Regions from separate parts of the Homo sapiens genome. Here regions 1, 2, 3, 4, 5 and 6 are each linked to region 7. The links are contacts of gene promoters, found by promoter capture Hi-C in blood cells and fetal thymus (Javierre and others, 2016). All regions are on one chromosome and are shown on one strand. Each heading gives the region's core, a stretch centred on a gene start or on the middle of the fragment in contact. The rest is flanking DNA. Distances are from core to core; before and after follow the strand shown.

Evidence for each region. Contacts are between HindIII fragments. The CHiCAGO score rates a contact against its expected background, and 5 or more counts as called.
Region 1: a contact is called between the fragment with the promoter of SEPTIN3 here and the fragment with the promoter of NFAM1 in region 7, in 11 of 17 cell types (naive CD8 T cells, activated CD4 T cells, naive CD4 T cells and 8 more). The highest score is 13.0, in naive CD8 T cells.
Region 2: a fragment that was not itself captured here is called in contact with the fragment with the promoter of NFAM1 in region 7 in 16 of 17 cell types (total CD8 T cells, endothelial precursors, naive CD8 T cells and 13 more); the score reaches 18.4 in total CD8 T cells.
Region 3: a contact is called between a fragment that was not itself captured here and the fragment with the promoter of NFAM1 in region 7, in 5 of 17 cell types (non-activated CD4 T cells, activated CD4 T cells, total CD8 T cells and 2 more). The highest score is 5.8, in non-activated CD4 T cells.
Region 4: a contact is called between a fragment that was not itself captured here and the fragment with the promoter of NFAM1 in region 7, in 3 of 17 cell types (naive CD8 T cells, total CD4 T cells and naive CD4 T cells). The highest score is 6.1, in naive CD8 T cells.
Region 5: a contact is called between a fragment that was not itself captured here and the fragment with the promoter of NFAM1 in region 7, in 7 of 17 cell types (total CD4 T cells, naive CD4 T cells, activated CD4 T cells and 4 more). The highest score is 9.9, in total CD4 T cells.
Region 6: a fragment that was not itself captured here is called in contact with the fragment with the promoter of NFAM1 in region 7 in 7 of 17 cell types (activated CD4 T cells, non-activated CD4 T cells, naive B cells and 4 more); the score reaches 7.9 in activated CD4 T cells.

What each region holds. Positions count from the first base shown.
Region 1 is chr22:41,968,067-41,970,766 of GRCh38, reverse strand. SEPTIN3 (septin 3) reads right to left here and starts at 1,324. Exons shown (of 12, transcript NM_001363845.2): 1 at 1,090-1,324. The HindIII fragment of the contact is 14,934 bases long and covers 1-2,700 here.
Region 2 is chr22:42,160,089-42,162,792 of GRCh38, reverse strand. It overlaps TCF20 (transcription factor 20), which reads left to right. Exons shown (of 6, transcript NM_001378418.1): 6 at 1,435-2,704. Among named protein-coding and RNA genes, the nearest start is that of CYP2D6, 31 kb to the right of the region's middle. The HindIII fragment of the contact is 4,008 bases long and covers 1-2,704 here.
Region 3 is chr22:42,006,709-42,009,593 of GRCh38, reverse strand. All of the region lies in intron 1 of WBP2NL (WBP2 N-terminal like), which reads right to left. Among named protein-coding and RNA genes, the nearest start is that of WBP2NL, 9.4 kb to the right of the region's middle. The HindIII fragment of the contact is 4,325 bases long and covers 1-2,885 here.
Region 4 is chr22:42,038,882-42,041,674 of GRCh38, reverse strand. It overlaps a transcript of WBP2NL not described here. Among named protein-coding and RNA genes, the nearest start is that of NAGA, 31 kb to the left of the region's middle. The HindIII fragment of the contact is 4,262 bases long and covers 1-2,793 here.
Region 5 is chr22:41,988,626-41,991,427 of GRCh38, reverse strand. SEPTIN3 (septin 3) reads right to left here. Exons shown (of 12, transcript NM_001363845.2): 7 at 1,744-1,861. Among named protein-coding and RNA genes, the nearest start is that of WBP2NL, 8.8 kb to the left of the region's middle. The HindIII fragment of the contact is 8,041 bases long and covers 1-2,802 here.
Region 6 is chr22:42,057,007-42,059,868 of GRCh38, reverse strand. It overlaps NAGA (alpha-N-acetylgalactosaminidase), which reads left to right. Exons shown (of 9, transcript NM_000262.3): 9 at 1-1,535. It also overlaps a transcript of WBP2NL not described here. Among named protein-coding and RNA genes, the nearest start is that of NAGA, 12 kb to the left of the region's middle. The HindIII fragment of the contact is 1,371 bases long and covers 909-2,279 here.
Region 7 is chr22:42,431,028-42,433,727 of GRCh38, reverse strand. NFAM1 (NFAT activating protein with ITAM motif 1) reads left to right here and starts at 1,325. Exons shown (of 6, transcript NM_145912.8): 1 at 1,325-1,491. The coding sequence starts at 1,371. The HindIII fragment of the contact is 8,354 bases long and covers 698-2,700 here.

The DNA of each region.
Region 1 (2,700 bases), core at 75-2,574, 460 kb after region 7:
AGGAAGTAGGCAGGGCTCCACCAAGCTAAGCATTAGGGGTAGAAAGGCGGGAGGCTAGACCTGAGCTGGGGCTGTTCCTACAGAAGGCCCAAAGGTGAGAAAGTGTGGCATCTTTCTGAAAATCCAACATGGGGCTCCTAGGCTGTATGTAGCAGGGAGGGGAGAGCCAAGGCTGCAGGTGAGCTGGGGTCCAGGCCAGGCTACAGCAAAGTTTAGGCCAGGGAATGTGACCCATTCCGATCTGTAGGTGGGAACGGCCACTCGGGCAGTGTGACAGAGGGATCAGATGGGAACAGAATTGAAGCCAGGATCCCATGAGGACATAGTTGAAACTCTCTGCTCCGTGGGCTGTGCAAGGGGCAGAGCTAGGGCTGGGGCTGGAGGAGGCTGCATTGCACAGGGGTAGAAGTGGCGGGACTGCCCAGGGTAGGGAGTGGGCACAAAGAGGTGTCGAGGATGAAGCTCAGGACTCTGGCTGTGGTCTTAGTAGATGGGCCACTCCCTGCTACTCTGGACTCCAAGTAACTCACCCTCTAGAAAAAAGTTGGTTTGGTTGCTTTTAACACAGCAGGCTGGGACCTGCAGCTGGGGGACAAGGCCAGGGCTGGTGGGAGGAGTCAGTTCCAGAGGGCTCATGGGGAGGGGAGTGATCATGTAGCCAGGTCCTTGAGGTCTGCAGCAGGGACGGGGAAGGCAGGGCACCGGACAGGGAAGGCATCACCCCTCACAATGGTGCCCCCAGCCCCTCATCCCTCTCCAGCCATATATTTGTATCCAAGACTGTCCTGGCCTCCAACCCTTTCCCACCTGGCCTATCACTGCAGCCCTGAACTTCTGCCCCCTCCTGCACAGCCACATCCACTTGGGCACACACGTTTACCCTGCACTTAGCCACAAACAGCTCCCCTCAGTGTGCACACCCACACACAGAGCAGGCCAGAGGACAGGGTGTCCGAGGGCATCACCCGACTCCCCATCCCCTCACTGCACTCCCATCTTCCATGGATTGCTTGGTCCTTCCCCACCCCACCCCCACCACCCTCCCACCCCCACAAACCCCCACACCCTTCCACCCCCCTACACACCTACCTTGATCAGAGGACAAGAAGGATCCAGTGTGTCTGGGAAGATAAGGCACACGCAGGCCCCTCACCTCCCCTGCACTCAGAGTCTGGCCATGGTGGCCAGCTTAGGGGCCTTGTCCCTCTGGTCCCCTCCTCAGCTCCTGCTCAGCCTCCAGGCCACAGTCCCCAGGCACAGGGCCCAGCCCTCTGCTCACTGTCCCACCAGCTACATCCCCGGAGACCGTGCTGGGCTGGGCTCTGGTGCAGGGAGGGGCTGGCTTCCTAGGAGTGGGCGGCTGTGAATGGCTGCTCTGAGCCTCTGGAATCCTGAAGAGCCATGGGAGGCTGGTAACGGCCAGGCTGGCACTCACGGCCACCTGCAGGGAGGTTCCCTGCAGCCTGCCCTCCCCAAATCTGCTCTGTCTCCCACAGACTTTGATGCCTGGGGAGTCTGCAGTAAAAACAGGGGTACTCCAAATATGGCTGCACTCTGGTAGTCCCAGCGCGAGTCTCCCTCTGGCTCTGCCTCTGTGCCCTTCATGCCCTGTTCAGCTCTGCAACCCTCAGACCATCTTGCCCACTCACCTGGTCTTTCCTCAAGGGGGCTGGAGTTCCTGGAGGCTAGAGCTCCTTCCACAACTATTCCCTGAGCCCCAGCTTGCTCCAGCTGGACCCTGTACCCAGACCCTAAGGGTGTGAAGAGGACCCCGCCCTAGGCCTGCCCCTGAGGGGACCACAAAGCCACCCAGCCTGGCTCTGGCAATGCCGACTCTCAGCAGCCCCTGGCCCTGGGGCTGGGATGGGAGCCCTCTTCTGTGTTCCCACAGCCCTCGGCTGCCTCTGTCATAGCAGTGGTGATAATAACAATGGTGCTGATAACAGCTACTATTTCCTGAGCACTTGCTCTGTGCCCGGCACCATGCCAGGGCTGGGCGGAGCTCACAGTCTGCTAGGAAGATAGGTATGTAAACAGATCCTATAGTACTGTCCTGTACGGTGATGGCAGATGTCCTCCGAGCACTCACCCTGAGTCAGGAACTAGGCTAAGCATTCTCCTGGCATCTCCTTTAATCTCCGCCTCATCACCTGCTTTTTACCGAGGAGGACATTGCAGCCCACACAACACTGTGTTGTCTGGTCTGCTCTCCTGTGTGTCTCTCTCTTTAGCGAGTGAGCTTCTGGAGCTGCGCTGGGCAATACAACTTTCAGTGATAATGGAAATGTTCTATGTCTGTGCTGTCCAGTACAGTAGCCACTAGCCACAGATGGCTACCGATCACTTAAAATGTGTCTACAGTGACCAAGGAACTGGATTTTTTAGTTTATTTTAATCTGTGGCTACCATATTAGCTCAGCTCTGTTTCGTTTGTTGTTGCTGTTGTTGTTATTAGTTTTTTTGAACAGGGTTTCACTCTGTCGCCCAGGCTGGAAGACAGTGGCGCCATCATGGCTCACTGCAGCCTCTTGGGCACAAGTGATCCTCCCACTTCTGCCTCCAGAGTAGCTGGGACCACAGGCATGCACCACCACGCCCAGCTAAGTTTTTATTTTTTGTAGAGACGGGGGTCTCCCTATGTAGCTCAGGCTGGTCTCGAACTTCTGAGCTCAAGCAATACTCCTACCTCCACCTCCCAAA
Region 2 (2,704 bases), core at 27-2,526, 270 kb after region 7:
TTAGCAGTTCTGCGTGTGTGAACTTTATGGAAGCAGAAAGGGCTGGTGACACTTGGGTTCTTGGGGTTTGTCAGGGGAGGGCACCAAATTGGTCTTGAGGAAGCAGTTAGGTGAGCCCCAGTGACAGTCTTAAGCACAGTGATTGGCAGATAGCAAGTGAAGGAGGGGCAAGGCTGCCACCACTTCTGGCTTCTGGTGAAATTTTACTGGACTGATTCCTAGGAAACTGCTGTTTGTCTTTGAGACCTTTCCACATCAGATGGCCCATGAAGCGTTCCACAGGGACCTTTGGTACAATCCATCTGTCCTACGTGGGCCATCAGAATCCCCTTCTGCACATGGGCTGGAAGAGGAGAGAAGCCCTCCAGCCTGGGGATGGGAGACCTAGGGGTCTCAGGTTCCTGAGAGGTCGAAAGGATTAACATAGTCCAGCTCTGTCTGAGCCTCAGAAAACCTGCCCTCCCTGTTAGAGGCCATGGGAAGAGTGTTCTTTTTAAGCATGAAGAACTGACTGTGGGCCAGGTGTAGTGGCTCACGCCTGTAATCCCAACACTTTGGGAGGCCGAGGTGGGCAGATCAGCTGGGGCCAGGAGTTCTAGACCAGCCTAACATGGCAAAACCACATCTCTCCTAAAAATACAAAAATTAGCCGGGTGTGGTGGCGTGCACCTGTGATCCCAGCTATTTGGGAGGCTGAGGCACAAGAATCACTTGAACCCAGGGGGCAGAGGCTGCAGTGAGCCAAGAGCACACCACTACACTCCAGTCTGGGCAATAGAGCAAGACTGTCTCAAAAAAAAAAAAAAAAAAAAAAAAAAAAGACTGTCATTAGCCAAGCATGGTGGCGTGTACCTGTAGTCCCAGCTACTTGGAAGGCTGAGGTGGGAGGATTGCTTGAGCCCAGGAGGTCAAGGCTGCAGGGAGCCAAGGCGACAGAGCGATGTCTTGTCTCAAAAACAAACAACTAGCTGTGTTGACTAGAGGCAGCTGTGAAACTGTCCTAAAAGGCTGGACTTCGAGAAGTTTCTTCCACAGATTGACCAGGTACTGTAGGTTTCAGTCACAACTGGGGTCCTGACACTGGCAAAACCCCACCAGCTGCCCCACAAGTGGGGCCTGCCCTGAGGTCAGGGAGTTCTCTGCTGTACTGGTTCCTTTATGCACTAGGAAGGCAGACATGCCCTGAGGAGCCCTCAGAGTCCAACCCCAGCACCCCCACTAGGTCATTGCTGCCTTTAATCACATTCCAGATCCAGAGCCACACAGTGGCCCTGGCATTGGTCTCGGGTGTGTCCCATATCAGCAGCACATCTGCAGAGGGGCGTGAGTGCAGGCTCCCTGCTGAAAGCTCCCAGGGGTACCACGGAACAGCGGCTGTTGGTGGTGGACCCTGTGGAGGCTCCTGGCCTTCACTGTGTGTCCCTTGTCTTCCAGGTGAGACTGTGGAGATGAGAAGGTGGTGGACACTCGTGATGGAATGGAAATCGTCCTACCGTGCAGCCACACCCTGCCCTGCCCCGCCCCGCCCCGCCCGCGTGCCTGCCCATGCCAGCACTTCCTTAAGTTCTCACATCACACTCAAACCAGTGACACCACAGGAAAGAAAGACCCAAGACGTTGGAATGGCTGTTTCCATGGACACAATCTCCATAGTGACAATGTGGGGGGAGGGGGGAGGGGTGGGATGATGGGGAAAGGGTGGGGGGAATTAAAAGGGAGGGATAAATATATATATATAAATCTATTTTTAGTCTGGAAAGACTTTGTTTAAATGAAAGGTGCGCTATCCCTTTTGATTCTGTTTTAAAATTATCTCGTTAAAGATCTCCAAATTTGTTCCGATGACAAGTGAAATTTAAATGTGAGATTGAACTGAACAAACCCTCATCTCATGAAGGACGGGGTGTGTGTGTGGCGTTGATCTTTAGCCTGTCTCACACCAGTTCAGAAAACACTAGACCCAGGATTGAAAAAGCAAACCACAGCAGAACCATCCTTTTGTCATTAATTTGTCTCAAAGTGGGAAGGTTTTGGGGGAGGGGGAAATACAGGGATGGTCCATGTTTTCAAGAGTAGGGGAATGATGTTTAAACACAAAAATAAATTTTTTTTCATTTCCAGAAACACTATTTATTTATGGTTTTTTTTTTTTAATTTTTTCTTTTTGGGGGTGAAATTGGCAGATGCCTGAGGTCATAGCTGTGTCCTGGGTCACTGTGGCTGGTGAGGACCTCAAGGACCCCATCAAGTGTACACAGCAGCAGCAAAATCAAGGGATGACCCTCCTCTGGGGCCCCCTGTCCTCAGCACATTCCAGGCAGCTGTGCCCTGACCCACAGGGACCCGTGGGGATGGGAGGAGGTCCAGGCCTGTGTTGCCAGAGCTGGCAGTGTGAGCTGTAGGCAGGGACGGGGAGGGACTGTCGCTGTGATCAGAGTGGGTTAAGCTGACCAGGAACACCCATTTAACCCCTTTTTCTTTTTGCTTTCATTTTTATAAAGGAAAAGAGGACCTGTCAGATAGGCAGCCCCATGCTACGTGATTCTTTATGTTGTGTTGTTTTGTTTTGTAAATTGTATAATTTTTAAATATCTGAGTTTTAAAAAAAGAAAAAAGTACAAAAAAATCTTGTTATGGCCTTAAGAAGGGGTTAGTGCATCTTTCAGGGGTCACTCTGCCATGGGGATAAAATAGCTGTTTCACA
Region 3 (2,885 bases), core at 109-2,608, 420 kb after region 7:
ATGACTCAGTGAGGAAAAGACAATCTATTTAACAAATGATGTCCTTTTAGAAAACTGGATATCCACATGCAAAAGAATGAAGTCATACCTTTATCTTACATAGTATGCAAAAATTAACTCAAAATGGATTAAAGACTTAAACATAAGACCCAAAACTATAAAACTCCTAGAAAAAAACATACTGAAAATCTTCGTGACATTGGACTTGTCAATGACTTCTTGGATAAAAAAACAAAAGCACCGGCAACAAAAGAACAAATAAATAAATTGGACTATATCAAACTTAAAAATTGTGTATCAAAGGACACAATCACCAGAATGAAACAGCAACCTATGGAATGGGAGAAAATATTTCAAATTGTATTTATGATAAGGGCTTAATATCTAGAGTATGTAAAGAGCTCCCTGTAATCCCAGCACAAGGCCAAGGTGGGTGGATCAACTGAGGTCAGTAGTTCAAGACCAGCCAGCCCAACATGGTGAAACCCTGTCTCTACTAAAAATACAAAAAAATTGGCCAGGCCCAGTGGCTCACGCCTGTAATCCCAGCACTTTGGGAGGCTGAGGCGGGTGGATCACAAGATCAGGAGATCGAGACCATCCTGGCTAACACGGTGAAACCCCGTCTCTACTAAAAAATAGAAAAAATTAGCCGGGCGTGGTGGTGGACACCTGTAGTCCCAGCTACTCAGGAGGCTGAGGCAGGAGAATGGTGTGAACCTGGGAGGCGGAGCTTGCAGTCAGCCAAGATCGTGCCACTGCACTCCAGCCTGGGCAACAGAGCGAGACTCCATCTTAGAAAAAAAATAATAAAAAAAATTAGCCAGGTGTGGTGGTGGGCACCTGTAATCCCAGCTACTCAGGAGGCTGAGGCAGGAGAATCACTTGAACCTGGGAGGCAGAGGTTGCAGTGAGCTGAGATCGCACCATTGCACTCCAGCCTGGGCAACAAGAGCAATAATACACAAATGGCCAATGAGCATATAAAAAGATTGTCATTACTAATCATCAGAGAAATACAAATCAAAACCACAATGAGACATCACTTTATACCCATTAGGATGGTTAATATTTAAAAAACCAACAGGTCCAGGCATGGTGGCTCATGCCTGTAATCCCAGCACTTTGGGAGGCCAAGGTGAGTGGATCACTTGATGCTAAGAGTTTGAGACCAGCCTGGCCAACACAGCGAAACCCCGTCTCTACTAAAAATACAAAAAACTGGGTGTAGTGGCATATGCTTGTAATCCTGGCTACTCAGGAGGCTGAGGGCATGTGAATCACTTGAACCCCGGAAGCTAAGGCTGCAATGAGCCAAGATCCTGCTGCTACACTACAGCCTGAGTGACAGAGTGAGACTCTGTCAAAAAAAGGGAAGGGAGGGGAGGAGAGGGGGAGGGGGAGGGAGAGGGAAGGGAGGGAGAAAGGAAAGGAAAGGAAAGGAAAGGAAAGGAAAGGAAAGGAAAGGAAAGCAAAGGAAAGGAAAGGAAAGGAAAGGAAAGGAAGAGGAGAAGAGAAGAGAAGAAAAACAAGTGTTGGTGAGGATGTGGAGAAACCGGAACTCTTGTGCACTGTTGCTAGAAATGTAAAATGAGTAGCTGCTATGGAAAACAGTCCGGAGGCTCCTCAAAAAAAATTAAAAATAGAACTACCGTACAAGCTAGCAATCCTGCTTCTGGGTATACATCCAAAAGAATTGCCAGCAGTGTCTCAAATAGATATTTGAATACTTATGTTGATAGCAGCACTATTCACAATAACCAGGAGGTGGAAGCAACCTAAATGTCCATCAGTGCATGAATGGATAAACAAAATGTGGCACATACATACAATGGAATATTTTTCAACCTTAAAAGAAGGAAATCCTGTCACATGCTGTAACATGGACGAACCTTGAGGATGTTACGCTAAGTTAAATAAACCAGCCACAAAAAGACAAATATTGTCATTACACTTACATGAGGTATCTGAAGTAGTCAAATTCATAGAAACAGAAAGTAGAATGGTTGTTACTAGGTGTCATGGGGAGAGGGATAGAGGGAATTGTTTAATGGGAACAGAATTGTTGGGAAAAGTATGGTGAAGTGGGCACTCAGAGTACTGAGAGGAATGTAAATTGATATAATTCTGTAGGGCAATTCTGCAATAAGTGTATTTTAATGTAAAGTCATGTATACTTTAATATTTTGAACAATGATTTTTATATTTTCAATAAATATTTTTAATCTCTTTTTAAAAGTCTAATCCTCTGACCTCACAATTCCCCTATCCCAAAGAAACATTTTGACAGGTAGGCAAAATTATGTTTTCAAAAATGTTCATTGCAGGAATGTTTATAGTAATGACCAAAAAAACCACAAACAAACAAAAAACAAAACAAAAACCCAGACTATTCCAGATTAGGGGTTGAGTAAAGATTTATGCACACTGGAATACCAGCCATTGAAAATAATGATGTAGATACACTAGAAAACATTCCCAATATACTGGCAAATGAGGAAAATAAGTTATAAAGCAGTTGGAGAAAAAAACTGTTTATTTCCATGTGGAAAAGTACAGAAGGACATATACCAAAATGCAAACATTACTGGTAAAAATTTGGGATAACAGATTTTTTCTTCTGATTTTTCTATAATGACAGGTTTCCAGCACACGTTTTAACAATGCATAAAATAAAACAACTCAATGATTCCCATTTTACAGTAGAGTCTGTCCCATATGTTCATGACTTCTCAGCTGGGGTCAGAAAAAATCTCTACAAAACACAGCAAGCTGTGATCAATTTCTCAACTGTGTATTGTGAATAGGCAAGAGGAGTCAAAATATAATGGGAACTCCGAACAGTTCATGGAATTAAAAGATAAAAACATAAACCTTATTTCTCA
Region 4 (2,793 bases), core at 225-2,724, 390 kb after region 7:
AACCAAAAAAATTTGGTAATAGAGTCACAATATAAAAAGAAGTAAGCTAAAGGCTTACTTTAGCTATAAGGACACTCAGACTAAAGGTGAAGGGATAGAAAAAGATACTCCATGCAAATGGTAACCAAAAGAGAGCAAAAGTGGCTATACTTTTATCAGACAAAACAGACTTTTTTTTTTTTTTTTTTTTTTTAAAGACAGAACCTCGCCCTGTTGCCAGGCTAGAGTGCAGTGGCATGATCTCGGCTCACTGTAACCTCCGCCTCCTGGGTTCAAGTGATTCTCCTGCCTCAGCCCCCCGAGTAGCTGGGACTACAGGTGTGTGCCACCACGCCCAGCTAATTTATATATTTTTAGTAGAGATGGGGTTTCACCATGTTGGCCAGGATGGTCTCGCTCTCTTGACCTCGTGATCTGCCTGTCTCAGCCTCCCCTCCCAAAGTGCTGGGATTACAGGCGTGTGCCACTGTGCCCAGCCAAAACAGACTTTTAAGTCCAAAACTGTTACTAGGGACAAAGAAAGTCATATAATGATAAAAGTTTCAATTCAACAGGAAGCTATAACAATTATAAACATGTATGTACTGAACATCAGAGCACTTAAATATATAAATCAAATATGGACAGATATGAAGAAAGAGGTTAAAAACAATTTAATAGTAGGAGAATTCAATATTCCACTTTTAATAATGGATAGCACATTCAGGCAGACAACCAATAAAAAAACAACTGATTTGAATAACACTATACACCAAATGGACCTAACATACAGAACGTTTTAGCCAACAGCAGCAGAATACAATTTCATCTCAAGTATACATGGAACATATTCCAGGATAGGTCACATCTTAAGTCACAAAACAAGTTTTAACAAATTTAAGAAGATTGAAATAATACCTGGTATCTTCTTAGGCCACAGTGGAAAGAACTAGAAATCGGTAACATAAAGAAAATAGAAAAATTCACAAATTCATAAAAACAATACACTCTTGAACAACTGGATAAAAGAGGAAATCCAGAGAGAATTTTAAAATATCTTGAGACAAAAATAAAATTCTAACTTTCTAAAATTTACAGGAATCAGCAAAAGCAGTTCCATAAGGGAAATGTATAGCATTAAACACCTATGTTTAAAAAGAAGAAAGATCTCGGTCAGGCGAGGTGGCTCACACACCTGTTATCCCAGCACTTTGGGAGGCCGAGGCAGGCAGATCACTTGAGGTCAGGAGTTCAAGACTAGCCTGGCGAACATGGTGAAACCTCGTCTCTACTAAAATACAAAAAATTAGCCAGGCGTGGTGGCAGGCAACTATAATCCCAGCTACTCAGGAGGCTGAGGCAGGAGAATTACTTGAACCCAGGAGGCGGAGGTTGCAGTGAGCTGAGATCGCACCATTGCACTCCAGCCTAGGCAACAGAGCAAGACTCTGTCTAAAAAAAAAAAAAGAGAGAGAGAGAAGATAGATCTCAATTAAAGAACCTAACATTGGCCAAGGCATGGTGGGAGGCCAAGGCGGGTGGATCACTTGAAGTCAAGAGTTCGAAACCAGCCTGTCCAACATAGTGAAACCCCATGTCTACTAAAAATACAAAAAATTAGCCGGGTATGGTGGTGCCTGCCTGTAGTCCCAGCTACTCTGGAGGCTGAGGCAGGAGAATCGCTTGAACCCAGGAGGCGGAGGTTGCAGTGAGCTGAGGTTGAGCCACTGCACTCCAGCTCTGGGTAACAAAACAAGACTTCATCTCGAGGAAAAAAAAAAAAAAAACCTAACTGTACAAATCAAGAAACTAGAAAAAGAGGAACAAACTCGACCCAAAGTTAGCAGAAGGACAGAAATAAGAAAAATTAGAGCAGAAATAAACAAAATAGAGAATAGAAAAAACTAAGTTGGCTTTTTAAAAAGATCAACAAAATCATCAAGCCTTTAGCTAGATTAAAAAAGAAGATTCAAATAAATAAAATCATAAATAAGAGAGGAGACATTACAATGGATGACACAGAAATAAAAAGGATCATAAGGGACTATTATGACAACCTATATGCCAATAAATGGAATAACCTAGAAGAAATGGATAAATCCTTAGTAACACACACACTACCAAGACCGAATCAAGAAGAAACAGAAAGTCTGAGCAGACCAATAACAAACAAGGAGTTGAATCAGTAATCAAAAACATTCCAGGCTGAGCGTAGTGGCTCACACCTATGATCACAGTACTTTGGAACGCTGAGCCAGGAGGATTGCTTGGGCTCTAGAGTTTGAGACCAGCCTAGGCAACACAGGAAGACCTCACTGATACTGGAAAAAAAAAAAAAAAGCCTGTAATCCCAGCACTTTGGGAGGCCAAGGCGAGTGGATCACCTGAGGTCAGGAGTTCGACACCAGCCTGTCCAACATGGTGAAACCCTGTCTCTACTAAAAAAAAATACAAGAATTAGCCAGGCATGGTGGTGGGCGCCTGTAATCCCAGCTACTTGGGAGATGGAGGCAAGAGAATTGCTTGAACCCAGGAGACGGAAATTGCAGTGAGCCGACACAGTGCCACTGCACTCCACCCTGGGCAACGGGGTGAGACTCTGTCTCAAAAAAAAAAAAAAATTAGCCAGGAATGGTGGTGTGCACCTGTAGTCCCAGCTACGTAAGAGAGGCTGAGGCAGGAGGATCACCTGAGCCCAGGAGATTGAGGCTGCAGTGAGCAATGATCATACCACTGCACTGCAGCCTAGGCAACAGAGTAAGACCCTATCTCGAAAAAGAAAAAAAAAATCCAGCTGGACGCAGTGGCTCACGC
Region 5 (2,802 bases), core at 248-2,747, 440 kb after region 7:
GCAGCAGGAAGATGGTGAATAAATGCAAGCCCCAGCTATACAATTACAACCTAGCCTGAGAGGAGGAAGAGGCCAGGAGGTGCAACTTCAGGTCCCAGGCGCCTCGCAACCAGCTTGCTCATCTCAGGGTCCGCGAGACTGGGATTTACACAAGCAGCACAGGTGAGCCCACTGGGGAGTGCTCAGACCCCTGCATGTTATATTCCTGATTGGAAGGAAGAAAGGTGAGGCTCCCCCTACTCCGAGACTGTTTGCCCTCTTTCAAGGTCGACTTAAGTCTTGCCTTCTCCAGGAAACCATCCAGGACCTCTTCATTTTCTATTTGATTATAAGTTTTGTTTGTTTGTTGTTTGTTTGTTTGTTTGAGACCGAGTCTTGCTCTGTTGCCCAGGCTGGAGTACCGTGGTGCGATCTTGGCTCACTACAACCTCCACCTCCCGGGTTCCAGTGATTCTCCTGCCTCAGCCTCCCTAGTAGCTGGGCTTACAGGCATATGCCACCACGCCCAGCTAATTTTTGTATTTTTAGTAGAAATGGGGTTTCACCATGTTGGCCAGGCTGGTCTCGAACTCCTGACCTTAGGTGATCCACCCGCCTTGGCCTCCCAAAGTGCTGGGATTACAGGCGTGAGCCACCGCCCCCAGCCAATTGTAAGTTTCTTTTTTTTTTTTTTTTTTTTTTTGAGATAGAGTGTCACTTTGTCGCCCAGGCTGGAGTACAGTAGCACGATCTCAGCTCACTGCAAGCGCCGCCTCTCGGGTTCATGCCATTCTCCTGCCTCAGCCTCCTGAGTAGCTGGGACTACAGGCACCCGCCACCACACCCGGCTAATTTTTTTGTATTTTTAGTAGAGACGGGGTTTCACCGTGTTAGCCAGGATGGTCTTGATCTCCTGACTTCGTGATTCACCCGCCTCTGCCTCCCAAAGTGCTGGGATTACAGGCATGAGCCACCACGCCCAACTGGATTGTAAATTTCTTAAAGGCAGCAATTGTCTTTTCATTTCTCTCAAATCGCCCCTCCCCAACCCTGTACATCCAGCACAGGGCTGAGCTTATAGAACATGCCAGTGAGGGCTGGGCACGGTGGCTCACGCCTGTAATCCCAGCACTTTGGGAGGCCGAGGCGGGCAGATCACGAGGTCAGGAGATCAAGACTAGCCGAGACCATCCTGGCTAACACAGTGAAACCCCATCTCTACTAAAAAGAGAAAAACAAAATTAGCCAGGCGTGGTGGTGGGTGCCTGTAGTCCTAGCTACTCAGGAGGCTGAGGCAGGAGAATGGCGTGAACCCGTAAGGCGGAGCTTGCAGTGAGCCGAGATCACGCCACTGCACTCCAGCCTGGGCGACAGAGAGAGACTCCAAAAAAAAAACAAAGAGAAGATGCCAGTGAGGACTAGTGGCCAGTTGACTCACTAATTAGTCTAGCCCTTCAATTAGGCTAACGTTGGAGGAGTGATTTCTTATGTACACAGTGATACATGTATTCAGTGGTCTTCACAGGTAGGTTTGGAGGGTGGGAAGAAGGCAGCCCAGAGCTGTGCCATCTTTTCTTCATCATAGTCCCCAGATACCACCAACCTCAGCCTCTTGAATGGTTAAGAAGGGGGCTGGGGTGGAGAATTGGGGGAGGGTTGAGGGTGGGGGTGAAGGCAGAATGATGAGGGCTAGGAGATGGCCTGAACCCAGCGGAGAGAAAGGAGGGGATGGGAACAGGAAAAGAAGACAGGGGGCCTTCTCACCCTTTGCTTGAATTCAGACTTCTCCTCCAGGGTCATGGTGTCAGCCTTAGCAATGACAGGGATGATGTTCACAACCTTGCTGAGGTGTTTCATGAACTCAAGATCCAGAGGTCGCAAGCTGGGGCACAGAAAAGGCAGAATCATCAGAGCCACCTTGCCCTCCCCAACTCAGCCACCACCACCACTCCAGGACACCCACAGGAGAAGAGGACTGGGCTGGGCATCTGGCTGAGGCCAAGAGGCTGCTACCTCTCGTCTCCGACACAGCCCCACTGCCTTGCCGTCTGTAGAGCAGCCTCAACACCTGCCTTTTTCTTTTTCAGTCCCCTTGCAGATTCTGCCTCTCTTTAAGCCCCCCTCAAACCACCACTTCAGGACATCTTTTCTGACTCAGGGATTTCTTTCTCCTGGGAGCATCTGTGGACTACTGTCTCTACTCATATGTCCTTGTGCGTGTGTGTCTTTTTTCCTTTTTTGTCTGTCTCAAAAACAAAAAACAAACAACAACAACCAAAAAAAAACAACACTGTGTGTGTCTTTTTTTTTTTTTTTTTTTTTGAGACAGGGTCTCACTTTGTCACCCAGGCTGGAGTGCAGTGATATGGTCATTGGCTCACTGCAGCCTTGACCTCCAGGGCTCAAGCAATCCTCCCACCTCAGCCTCCAGAGGAGCTGGGACCACAGTTGCGCACTACCATGTCTGGCTAATTTTTAAATTTTGTGTAGAGACAATGTCTTGCCATGTTGCCCACGCTGGTCTTGAACTCCTGGACTCAAGCAATCTTCCTGCCTCGGCTTCCCAAAGTGCTGGGATTATAGGCGAGAGCCACCGTGCCTAGTGTGTACATCTTGTTCTGCCTATCAGACTACTTCTTGACAGGTCTCCTCCTAGCCCCCAGAGTTAGTCCTGCAGGGCCAAACTGGAGGCCTTGCCCTTCCCACAATCTGACAGTCTATGCCCCCATCCTACCTCAGGCTCTGAGACCCCAACTTGGCTCTATTTTGCAATCTCAGGGACTCACTAAGTCAGTCTGTCTGATGGTTCATTCTGACCAGGGG
Region 6 (2,862 bases), core at 345-2,844, 370 kb after region 7:
TTTTCTACCCATAGAGGGCCTTGCAGCCTGATACCACCTGGGAGTGAGGGTCACAAAGGAGACCTTGGCTCCCTCAGGTCACCAATAAACCTGTTCTTTAATCAAGTAGTTGTAATATGGACCTGGGGTACCTTTAGTTAGGGACTCTGGTGGCACTACACGGGGTGCTGGATTCAAATCTCACCTCTATGGATGATGTCTGGCATCGTCTGGCCCCTCCTTTTCCAAAGTGACCAGAAGATTGTACTTCCTAGAGATGCCAGACTTGCCTCACACCCAGGAGCTGCCCCTGCTGTGCCTGGTATGCTGGCAGTGGTGATGGTGACAACACAATGAGGCCAAGTAGCAATGCTCCCAGGTCCTGCAGCTTGTGCTCTGCCCAGCAGTGCCCCTGGCCCAGCACCTCAGCCTGCTCTTCTCTCTGGTGGCTCCACCCCAACCCCTACTTCTTTTCCTTTATTTCTCTCCCAACCTGGCTGCAAAGGAGGTTCATATTCCCCAGATGTGTCCACAAACCTGTCCAGGAGTTGTGTCTTAAAATTGATTTCCTGTCCCTCTTCCTAAGGACAGGGGTAACAGTCAAAGTGAAGGAATGATGGGTTCTTGCCTGTCTTGCTTTGGTCCGTATTTCCCAAGCCCTCCTCTTTTAGCCAAGGCTACAGGGCACTTGTCTTCCCTGGTGGCTCTCCCCTTTGGAGAGAGCTAGTGGCAGAGCAACCTAGCTAGGTCCTCCTTGGGCTTTGAATGCAGGAGCACCCAGTGCCCCAGGCCTTGCACTGTGCTGCCCAAGGAGTATTTTCTGGGTGGATCTCCCATACTCCTCAGGGTTCTGAGGTCCTTGTATTTAGGGTATGGTGTAAAAACTTACATATGCACATTTTGTTACATCATTTAAGATGATTGAAGCTTTACTGGTTAAGTATAGGGTCACCAGAGAAAGTTCCTTTCCCCAGTTGATGTCTTGAGGCTGTTGAGAAACTTAGGACAGAAGCCTACCTCATCCCAGGCCTGCCCCTCCGTGCATAGCTCTGCCTTTGGGTCTTGTTCATAGTGCTGTTCAGGCAAAATGGAATAGTCTCAGGTGGGAACACCTTCTCTTGCTAGCTCCAGGAAGGCTTTGTGGGAAATGAGTTGAGACCATGGACTTGGGAGTTGGGGGCCAGAGTTGAGCCTGGACTTGACCAATTAATTCCCTTACCTTTCAGCCCAAGATAGCTACATGTCTTTACTTGCTGTATAAGTTTTCCTTTTGTCCTGGGGGTGCCTGATTGATCCTATCTCTTCACCCTTCATTCTTTCAACAAACATGCCATCTATCTCCCAGGACATTTATTCCCTTCTATTCAAGGCCAGTTAGGAATGCAATTATTTTTTTTTTTCAGTTAAATACAGACTTGTTTGGACGCAAGGTACCCTTTCTCTTTTTAAAAACTTTTTATCATGAAAACTTTCAAATACAAAAATAAAATGGTAGAGTGAACCTCCATGTACCCAGCATCCAGCTCCAGTAACCATCAACGTGTACCATTATTTCATCTCTCTTCCTGCACATGCTCTTCTGATGTGTGAGCTAGAGTATCTGAAAGGAAATTTCAGAAAACCCTAAAAACCACTATGTCTCTAACAGATAAGGGCTTTAAAAATACATATATGAGCCGGGCGCGGTGACTCATGCCTGTAATCCCAGCACTTTGGGAGGCTGAGGTAGGCGGATCACAAGGTCAGGAGATTGAGACCATCCTGGCTAACACGGTGAAACCCCATCTCTATTAAAAATACAAAAAATTAGCCGGGCATGGTGGTGGGCGCCTGTAGTCCCAGCCACTCGGGAGGCTGAGGCAGGAGAACAGCGTGATCCTGGGAGGCGGAGGTTGCAGTGAGCCGAGATGGCACCACCATACTCCAGCCTGGGTGACAGAGCCAGACTCCATCTCAAAAAAAAAAAAAAAAAAAAAAAAAAAAAAAAATATATATATATATATATATATATATATATATACATACACACACACATATATGTGTATATATATATATATATATATGACCTTAATACAATTTTCCTATCTAAAAAAACATAATTTTAAAATAATCTAATAACCAATCTATGTTCAGTTTTTGCCAGTTGTCTCAAAAATCTCTATAGTTTGTCTAAATCAAGATCCAGTAAAATAGTCCAGTACGAACTACTGAAAGTTTGCTCCCTTCATAAAAGCATTGAAAAACCTGCCACATACTATCAAAATCAACTTTCACAGAACTCTGGAAATTAGCCAAAAGCTTGCGGCAACCCAGAAAACTTCAACTGAAAAAAAAAAAAGTTGAATTCTAGTAGAAACAGCAAGCTATGTGGTATTTTACCTTATTACCAGATTTTAAATCAGCTATTTTAAACATGTTCAAAGAGCCAAAGGAAGCCGGGTCTAAAGAAATAAAGGAAAGAATAAGAATGATGCCCAAACAGAATAACAAAGAAGAGATAAAACTGTAGTGGGGAAGAAAGCACAAATTCTGAAGTTGGAAAGTACAATAGTTGAAATGAGAATTCACTGAAGAGGTTTAATAATAGTAGATTTGACAGAAAAAGAATCAGCAAACTTGAAGACAGATCTGTTGAAATTAACCTCTCTGAGAAAAAGAAAGAAACAAGAATGAAGAACAATGAGCAAAACTTCTAAAACCTTTGGGATACCACCAAATGTACCCATATACACATAAAAAAAGAGAAAGGGGCAGAATATTGGAAGAAAGAATGGTTGAAAATGTCTCACATTTGATGGAAAATATTAATCTACCTATCCAAGAAGCTCAGTGAACTCCAAGTAGGTTAAACTCAAAGAGCTCCATACCTAGACATATCATAAT
Region 7 (2,700 bases), core at 76-2,575:
GGTAGGAAACTTCTCCTGTTCATATGTCTTCCTCCCCTGGTGGGCGGCCCCTGCTCTTGCCAGCCTCCCAGTGCTCGTGGCATTGGTGGAAACGTCTTTAGGCTTTCACTGTTCATGTTTGGAGCAGCCCAGGGAAAAGCATGTGTGCAAAGAACTGAAATGGATCTCATGATGCCGTCACCGGGGGCTGCAGCTGGACACACCTGAGCAGGCAGTAGCAGGGTGGGAGAAGGCTCGGACATCATACCACTGGCAGTTCAAATGCCCGCCCCACAGACCTGCCCTGATCCTAGGCATGTTGTTTTGCCTCCTGGGGCCGAGGTCTTCTCTTTTGTACAACTGGGATCATCACATTTATCTGGTGAGTGAAGGGACACCTGCAGAGAAGGGAGGTAAGCGCTCAGCATGCGCTGAAACTCAGCCACCTTCCCGCCTGCGTCTTCCATGTACCAGGTGCCTCCAGCTCCACCAGCCATCACCACACCCCAGCCCCTTTCCTCTGCCACTCCAGACACGCAGGCAGATGTGTGGGTGCCAAGGGTGAGGGGCTCCCAGTCTGCTGGGGAAGGGGGTCCCGGCAGCAAACAATTCCTGTCCCCGGCTGATGCTGCTAGAAGTGAGAGCAGGGGCTGTGACCTGCAGCCAATGGGGAAGCAGTTCGAGGGTCTCACAGTTGGGAGGCCGAGTGAGCTAAGCTTTAGGGCAGCCACAGGGAGGAGCTGACGTTAGAGATGGACCAGAGAGGAGGCGTCTCCTGGGCCTCTGCAGGGGACCCACAGAGGTTCTCGCTGGGTGAATGATGGGCAGCCTGCCTTTCACCTGCCCTGGGTGTTTGGCCCTCTCTAGGGCTGGGAACATGAGGCTCCTGCCCTTCACCCCAGCCTCCCTACCACCCCTCACCAAAAAACCTACCTTTGGTAAACACATTATTAAGGGATTCTCAGAATATTTTAGAGAAGTTTGTGTGAACATGCTTGTGGTCGTTTTAAAAGTGTTTCAGAAGTGAGAGGCTAAACCAAGGCCCGAAGTCACTCATGGAAATCCCATGATCCCTCTGCACAGTTACCAGTGTCTCCTGGACGGGGCCCCTGCTGGAAAGGGGCCGAGACAGGGTGAAGCCCACCAGGGGTTGGAGTGGGGAGGCTTGGGTCCCGTCTCCAGCTCTTCTTCTGGTTGTGTGGCCTGGACCAGTCTCAGTGCCAGGTTCCTCATCTGGCGGCCACCCTGCTGGGCTGTTCCAGCTTTGCTTCTGAGCGGAAGGTCAGGGGCTGCCAGGGAGGAGCTTCGTGGGGAAAGCAAAGGGGAAGCTGTCAGCGCCGGCCGTCCCCTCCTGTGAACTAAAGAGTCGCCGCAGACAAGCAGGCCCCCAGATGGAGAACCAGCCTGTGAGGTGGCGGGCCCTGCCAGGCCTCCCACGCCCTCCTGGGCTCCCCGCAGCCCCCTGGCTCCTCCTTGGCGTGCTGCTGCTGCCCGGGACCCTGCGACTGGCAGGTAGTGTCTGTCTTCCTCCTTCTCTCTACTCTCTCGCTCCAGAACATCAGAGCGGCTTTCATCCCGCCCGGCGCAGCTAATTCCCAGGGACCTGTCTCTGGGGATTTGCTGGTTGTCGTTTGAACGCTGCAGACTTCACAGGGGAAGCCTTCTGGGACCGAGAAGATGTTTAGCTAATGCCTTGCCAAGGTGGCTTTTGAAGGGGAGGGGGACAGCGCTCTCTCCCTCGCTGCTGTGACAGCTTTGCCCCAGCAGTCTGGCCTCCTGGCCCTTAAACAAGGAGGGTGGGCGCTGTGTGGCTGGGGCCAGGGGCGGGGCAGGGGGGAGGGACAGCTCCCCATCCGAGGAACCTCACGTGGCTGCTGCGGGGGACACTGCGTTGAACCTGGCAAGTGGTGGGGCTACCCTCTGGGTTGTTGCTGGCATTGGCCAGGGAGAGCGGGGAGAGGGGGGAGGGGGGGATACCAGGGCCAGCCACAGGGCTCTGCGCCCAGAGGCACAAAACTGTCAGTCACCAGAAAGGGTCTCACCTCCCAGTTCCTGAAACACAACCAGAGGCCAAGTGTTTTAGGATGCAAGTGTGTCTTTCCACGCCAGCGGCGCTCCTTTCCTGGTTCCAGGCTTTCTTGGAAGCTGGGTGGCCGGGATCCGAGCCAAGCTGTGGGGTAGGTAGCCTCAGGGCCAGTTCATCAGGCCAGGGACGGCCCAGGAGGGTCCCATTCCAGGGCTGCCAGCACGAGGGCTCAGTGAATTCTGCCAGATTCTCTCTGCCCCTCCTTGGCCGGGCAGCAGCCAACCCTCCCTCTGGCCAAAGGGGTGGCCTCCACTGTGGAGACAGGGTGCCTTCCTTTCTATTCTCTTAGTTTATGGGGCTTTCAAGAGCTGCCCCCACCCTGTCCTGCTGCACCCCCTCTCATGACCACAAATTAGGCTTTATGGAGCCCTTAGCAGGGCACGTACTGGCCACCCTCACAGCACCCCTTGGGGCTCCTATTGTCCTCACCTGCACCATTTTAAGGACAGGGAAAAGGAGGCCCAGGGAAGCCAGTTCGTTTGCTCAAGACCTAGCCGGTAAGTAGAGGCCAGCCTCAGCCCCAGGCCAGCCTCAGCCCCAAGCTGGGCCCCTCGGCCAGTAGGCTCAGAGGATCCTCTTACTTGTAAAGAATGTTCTTCACCGGAAACTTACCCTGGGGAGGCAAAGGCTGACCT